Regions from separate parts of the Homo sapiens genome. Here region 1 is linked to region 2. Evidence: promoter capture Hi-C in human tissues and cell types (Jung and others, 2019). All regions are on one chromosome and are shown on one strand. Each heading gives the region's core, a stretch centred on a gene start or on the middle of the fragment in contact. The rest is flanking DNA. Distances are from core to core; before and after follow the strand shown.

The links. Contacts are between HindIII fragments. The study calls those that stand out against the background at their distance.
Region 1: a fragment that was not itself captured here is called in contact with the fragment with the promoter of CPNE8 in region 2 in 1 of the 25 tissues and cell types used here (dorsolateral prefrontal cortex).

What each region holds. Positions count from the first base shown.
Region 1 is chr12:39,273,003-39,275,839 of GRCh38, reverse strand. No RefSeq gene overlaps it. Among named protein-coding and RNA genes, the nearest start is that of LINC02406, 130 kb to the right of the region's middle. The HindIII fragment of the contact is 5,121 bases long and covers 1-2,837 here.
Region 2 is chr12:38,904,185-38,906,926 of GRCh38, reverse strand. CPNE8 (copine 8) reads left to right here and starts at 1,336. Exons shown (of 20, transcript NM_153634.3): 1 at 1,336-1,490. The coding sequence starts at 1,393. CPNE8-AS1 (CPNE8 antisense RNA 1) reads right to left here and starts at 1,215. Exons shown (of 2, transcript XR_007063275.1): 1 at 1-1,215. RefSeq lists an enhancer at 1-51 and a silencer at 1,182-1,351. The HindIII fragment of the contact is 9,063 bases long and covers 1-2,742 here.

The DNA of each region.
Region 1 (2,837 bases), core at 159-2,658, 370 kb before region 2:
TTTTTATTAAAAGGATTGCAATTAATTCAAAGTCAGGCAGTTGGGCATCTTTCTTTCCTTCCTTCCCTATTTTCACTTTTCTTTCTTTGTAAACTGAAATTTAGGTCTAGTTTTACCAAAGAAGAAAGAAATTATTTGACTCACTGCATAGGTTATTTTAGGAAGAGAGAGACCAGAGAACTATTCCAAATGTGGATGAAGGACAGTATCAGCATTTTCTGCCTGCCAATCTATTTAGTTTTCATTTTCCTCCCTCATATTTCTTTATGCAGAGAGAGGACTATGAAACTTTGATTGATACACTTTTCATTTATTGTCATATACTACACTGCTAAAGACTGTCTAAAGGATGAAAACTGAATCTACTTATTTAATAATGATTATACATGCATGAAGTTTCACGTTAATATAGATGCATTATGTTTCCATGGGTTTAAAAACCTGGAAGGGCAATGTTTATTTATTATTAATGTTTTATATTAAATTGAGTGCTCAAAAACTTTTTTTTTGATTCTTAACTATTTCGTATTAGAGAAGTATAGGCTTACATATCAAGTTGATGTACTCATGCAAGTAAAATCATGATTCAAGTAAAGTAAATGCTGACGATTTATTAAGTAATATAATTAAATATACATTATAGTACGGGCGAATCAAGCTCTTACAGAATCCAGGGGAAAGGGGCAGTGGCTACCCCAGGACCTAGCTCCTTCAATGTGAGCTGATTTCTCCCAGCTGTGGGTGGGGCTATTGTGACCTGTCAGATGAAGCTACTCATTTCACCTTCTGCCTGAGGAAGGGCTCTTGGGTGCTAAGTTTTTAATCATGTCTGCTCAATCATATGAGTTTACACTTTTTTTCCCATCAGTTTGGCAATGGAGAAATGTAAACTGAGTCAAATATGCACTTGCGTATGTGTTGGGCATTTTTATTCATTCCTTCACTCATTCATTCAACAGTAATTTTTTCTAGATACAAAAATCATTCAGGCATAATTCTCTCACCCTTATGGCCATTCTAATTATCAGAGGGAGGTGGACTAGCGAGTACAGTCAAGTGTTATAAGTACTATGGTCAGTTCTACATGGGAAGAAGAAAGAGGTTAGGAAAGTGCTTTAAAAAGAGGGAAATTGCGAGTCTGGAAAAATAAATGTCCTGCAGAAATGGGTAGAAATGGGTAGACATGGGGAAAAAGCAGTCTAAGCAGGGCTTTAGGCAAAGGTTAAGAGGCTTGAAATGGTATGGCATATTTGGGGGAACTATAAGTTTTTGGTCATGGCCGAAGCATAGACTTAAAAAACGTTTTTTGATTGATATATTAGTTGTAGGTATTGAAACATAGCTTTTGTATGTCATGCTAAGGAATATGAATTTTATCTTATGTTTAATGAAGAGCCACTGAAAGCTTTTATTTAGGGAAATAATAGGATCTATCTGGTGTCTAAAAATATGATTCTGAAAGTGGTGTTGAGGATGGATGGGAAGACAATCTCCTGTGTGCCATAATATATTATGCCCATTGCAATAGCTCATGGATGATGCTGGTGTATGAATGAAAGTGGTGGCAATTGGGAAAGAGAAAAGAATTAATTTGTATAAAGTCAGTTATGAAGGAAATATTGTTCTAAGAAGATTAGGGTTTACTTAGAGACTTCATTCATTCATGAAAACAATTTGGTTCCCCATTCTCTGAAATAACAATTCAGTAATTATGAATCTGTATCAAACAATAATATAACACAATAGCAGTAAGAACAAAATGGCAAACTTTTCAGATGATCTTGATGAGCATCCAGGATTAGCATCCATGGTTTAGAAAATAAACTCTTGGAGTTCCAAAGAGTAAACAGGAGTCATTGGGGAAGGCTTTTTTTTATGACAGCAGCTCCTACACTGTTTTCTCTGTCTTACACTGGCAGGGGAAAATAAAAGGCCCTGAGGCTCACTCACCTCATTCATTCCATTTTTTCAACAGAAAAAAAAAAACCTAGGCTTTTTTTTCCCTAAATTTGGGGAAATCCTCCTCCACCCACAAAAAAAAAAAAAAAAAAAAAACTGGGGAAGAATTAAGAGGTGATTTGCAAATTTGCCAAGTATGCACAGAAGCCAGATTTTTCAGTAGCTGCATGAACTAAAGCTCTCCTAAATTTAGACAACGTTATGCTACATGAAGACAACCTTTTGATTTGTCCTGAAGTGGTCACTGGTGTTTTGGTAATGCACATCCACTGAGGAAATTTCGTATTCCAGTGTCACTGGGAGACCATCTGATGATGCGTTGTAGATGCCTGAAGCAACTTGAGCTACGAATTGAGAAATTAAGGAGGGGAAAAGAGAGTAGGATAATAACATGGTCACTGGGACGTCATGACCTTTCAATGTGCAGATTACTAACAAGTTAGTTTTTTCTGTATAGATTTTGATCTTTCTGGGAACAGTCCCAGAACAGTTTTTAGTATTTCCACCAGGGGGCAGTGATGTCCTCTACAACGTTGGTGACTGCAGCTAGACAAATTAATCATTCTTTTTTTTTTTTTGGACTTGGAGTGGGTTTGAGTGGGAAGCACTGATTAATTCTAACTGCCTATGGATATTAGGGTGGATTTGGAGTCAAATTCAAGCGGAAGACAGAATCGTTAAATAGCATCTGAAGAAGTGCAGAGCCTTAAACCAGAGTGACTACTTAATTAAATCAGTTGCTACAGTTGGTTAAATTGAATAGCTATCTTCAGACTCTGAAAACTCATAATTCTTGAAGCTCCTGTCCAGCAGCCTTAGGAGGTTCAAGGAATTTGATTTGCCAAGAATTATGTGCCCCATGAAACCACAGGAGCAAA
Region 2 (2,742 bases), core at 87-2,586:
ACCGCAAAAACTGCTCCTCCCAGACTTAGCCCAACCAGCTGGAAACTCCGTGCTTGGAGCGTTAAATCGGACGGACACCCGCCCCCTCTCCACCCTCTGCCTTCCAGCTGCGCCGCATCCTGTTCTCCGTCGCCGCCTGGTGGCGAGCTCCCGGGACCCGCAGGCGCTCGGGTGAGGCAGGAGGGAAGGCGCGGGGAACAAAGGTCCCTGCAGTGGAGGGGCGCCTCGTCTACCTCCGGATGCTTTTGCCACGACTCCGTCTTGGCACCAGTCTTGCTGCCCTGGAATGCAGTTTCCCAAACGCAGCGCTCACTCTGACTCCTCTCTGCTTTTATCCGTCAGGTCTCAGTTCTTGCGGGTGGGAGTCGGCTGAAGGAGCTGCGTTATATGGTTGTGACATCACCCTCCCCGGCCCCCATTTTCAGGTCAGAACTTTCATGCCTTTGGAAACGAGGGACCCAGAAGAGCCCTTACTGTAGGAGGAATGTCGCCGTTAGACCTCTAAGCTCCGAAGAACCAAGGGGAGACAGAATCCAGATTGCTTCCTTAAATCCCAAGTAGTATTGTTTTTTCCACCTTAGAGTCCGCCCCCCCGCCCCCACTTGTCCCATATATTGATCGGCCACTTTGCCACCGTGTTCCAAGGTTGGAGAGCGTCACAATGCCCCACCGTCCCCAACTCTCAAGTGGCCGACAGTGGGCAGTCCAGAAGCTGGGACCAGACTCATCTGCCCGAGGGCACAGTAGGAGGGACGGAGGGATCTCCCAAGAGCTCCGAGGGCGAGGTGAGAACCAATTGTGGGGAGGGGGACCTTATAACGGGGCAGTTAGGAACGGGCAGAGGTGCCCCCACCTCCAGCTTTCAACTCAGGCGAGGAAACTTCGAGACCTTCCCGTCCACACCTGATTGACAGAAGGAAGCTGTCGCGGCCCAGGAGGCGAGTGTGGGTGTGCAGAGGTGGAGACAAAACCTAAAAGCACGCAGAGCCGGCGAGGGCTTGCGGTCCTGGACGGTAGGGGTCTGCGTCTGGTGCCACCTTCTCCATCAGGCTGCTTGCTGGGTCCACCAAGCCTGACCCCTCCAGCCAGGAGGGGATCACGGAGTGTGTCCCCCGCCCGGGCTGCTGCCTGCCGGAAGGGGGCTGGGAAACCGGGATCCCCGCGCGCCACTTGCCTGGCAGCGTCAGTTTCACCCAGGACTGGCTAGCGGTTCCCTCGTGGCTCTGCGCGGAGGTCCGCCTCCTCCCTTCCCTCCCCCATCCCGCGCGCTGCCTCCGCCTCCTTCTTCTGCCTCCACCCTCAACCCCCATCCCCGCCTGACGGGAGCTAGCCCTCAGTCCGCCCGAGCTGTGGTTGTGGGCGCCGGACAAGTCCAAGGCGCCTCCTCCCAATATGGACAGCCGCTACAACAGCACTGCGGGCATCGGGGACTTGAACCAGCTGAGCGCTGCCATCCCGGCCACGCGGGTGGAGGTGTCCGTGTCCTGCAGGTGAGGACGCAGCCCTTCCCCTCTCTCCTGCCCTCTCATCTGTGGGGTTGGTAGCACTTGGAGAGCGCTCGGGGTACCACGAGGCTTTGCGCAGGCAAGAAGTTGCGCCATGAGTGGGAAATATCTCAGTAGTGGGGCTGGAGTTACCCCGGGTCAGGTGACACAGGGGAGCGGGAATTAGAAGCGGTGGGCTCCGGGACTGAGACTTTGTATTTTCTTTCTGGGAAACGCTGTAAAAGTTGGCTGGGCTGTGACTCAGCTGTGGGAACACCGGCCGCCGCCCACTTTACAAGCCGGTTTTCCGCCCCAAACCCGGGCTGGATGGTTGGGTGATGACCGGAATCGAAGGGGACAGCACTGCCAAAAGCTCTTGTGACCGCTGCACGCTTAGGCCCGGGACTTCCTCTGCTAGGCGTGTGCAAACCTGCTGTTGCTAGGGTTGGCTCCAACCCCGGCAGCTTCCTCCCCACCCACTTCCTGGAGCCTTCCAGCTTGCTTCTCCCCGACCCTTCCGGGCTTTTTGCCTTTTGCCTGATAGGTAGAGATTTCGGCCCTCCTTGCAGACGAATCTATGCCTTACCTAAGATCTGGGAAGTCACGACTTTTGTTTTGATTTGTTTTCGGGCCCACATCTGAGTGCTTGTAAAAACTGACTCTCGGCCGGGCGCAGTGGCTCAGTACAGTTTATACGCCTGTATTCCCAGCACTTTGGGAGGCCAAGGCGGGTGGATCACGAGGTCAGGAGTTCGAGACCAGCCTGGCCAATATGGTGAAACTCCGTCTCTACTAAAAATGCAAAAATTAGCCGGACGTGGTGGCACGCGCCTGTAGTCCCAGCTACTCGGGAGACTGAGACAGGAGAATCGCTTGAACCCGGGATGTGGATGTTGCAATGAGCTGAGATCTTGCCATTGCACTCCAGCCTGGGCGACAGCGCAAGACTCCATCTCAAAAAAAAAAAAAAAACAAAAAAAAACTGACTTTCAACCCTGTCCAGAGACTGTAAATTGCAAACTCGTTGTCCTGACCTTTCGGTTAGTTGCCCTGTAAATAAAGCAGCATCACCGCTATATCATAGATGATTTTGAGAAGGAGATGAGCGATGGTGCTAAATTGGTACTGGCCACTAATTTGCGAATTAATATTGACCCTGGAGCCCACTCCCTTGTTTGCATAATTGGGTCTGTCTCACTGGAAAACTGGCTCCTCATTTATCCATTTTTGCCCTAAGATTGTTTTTATGCCCTCACAT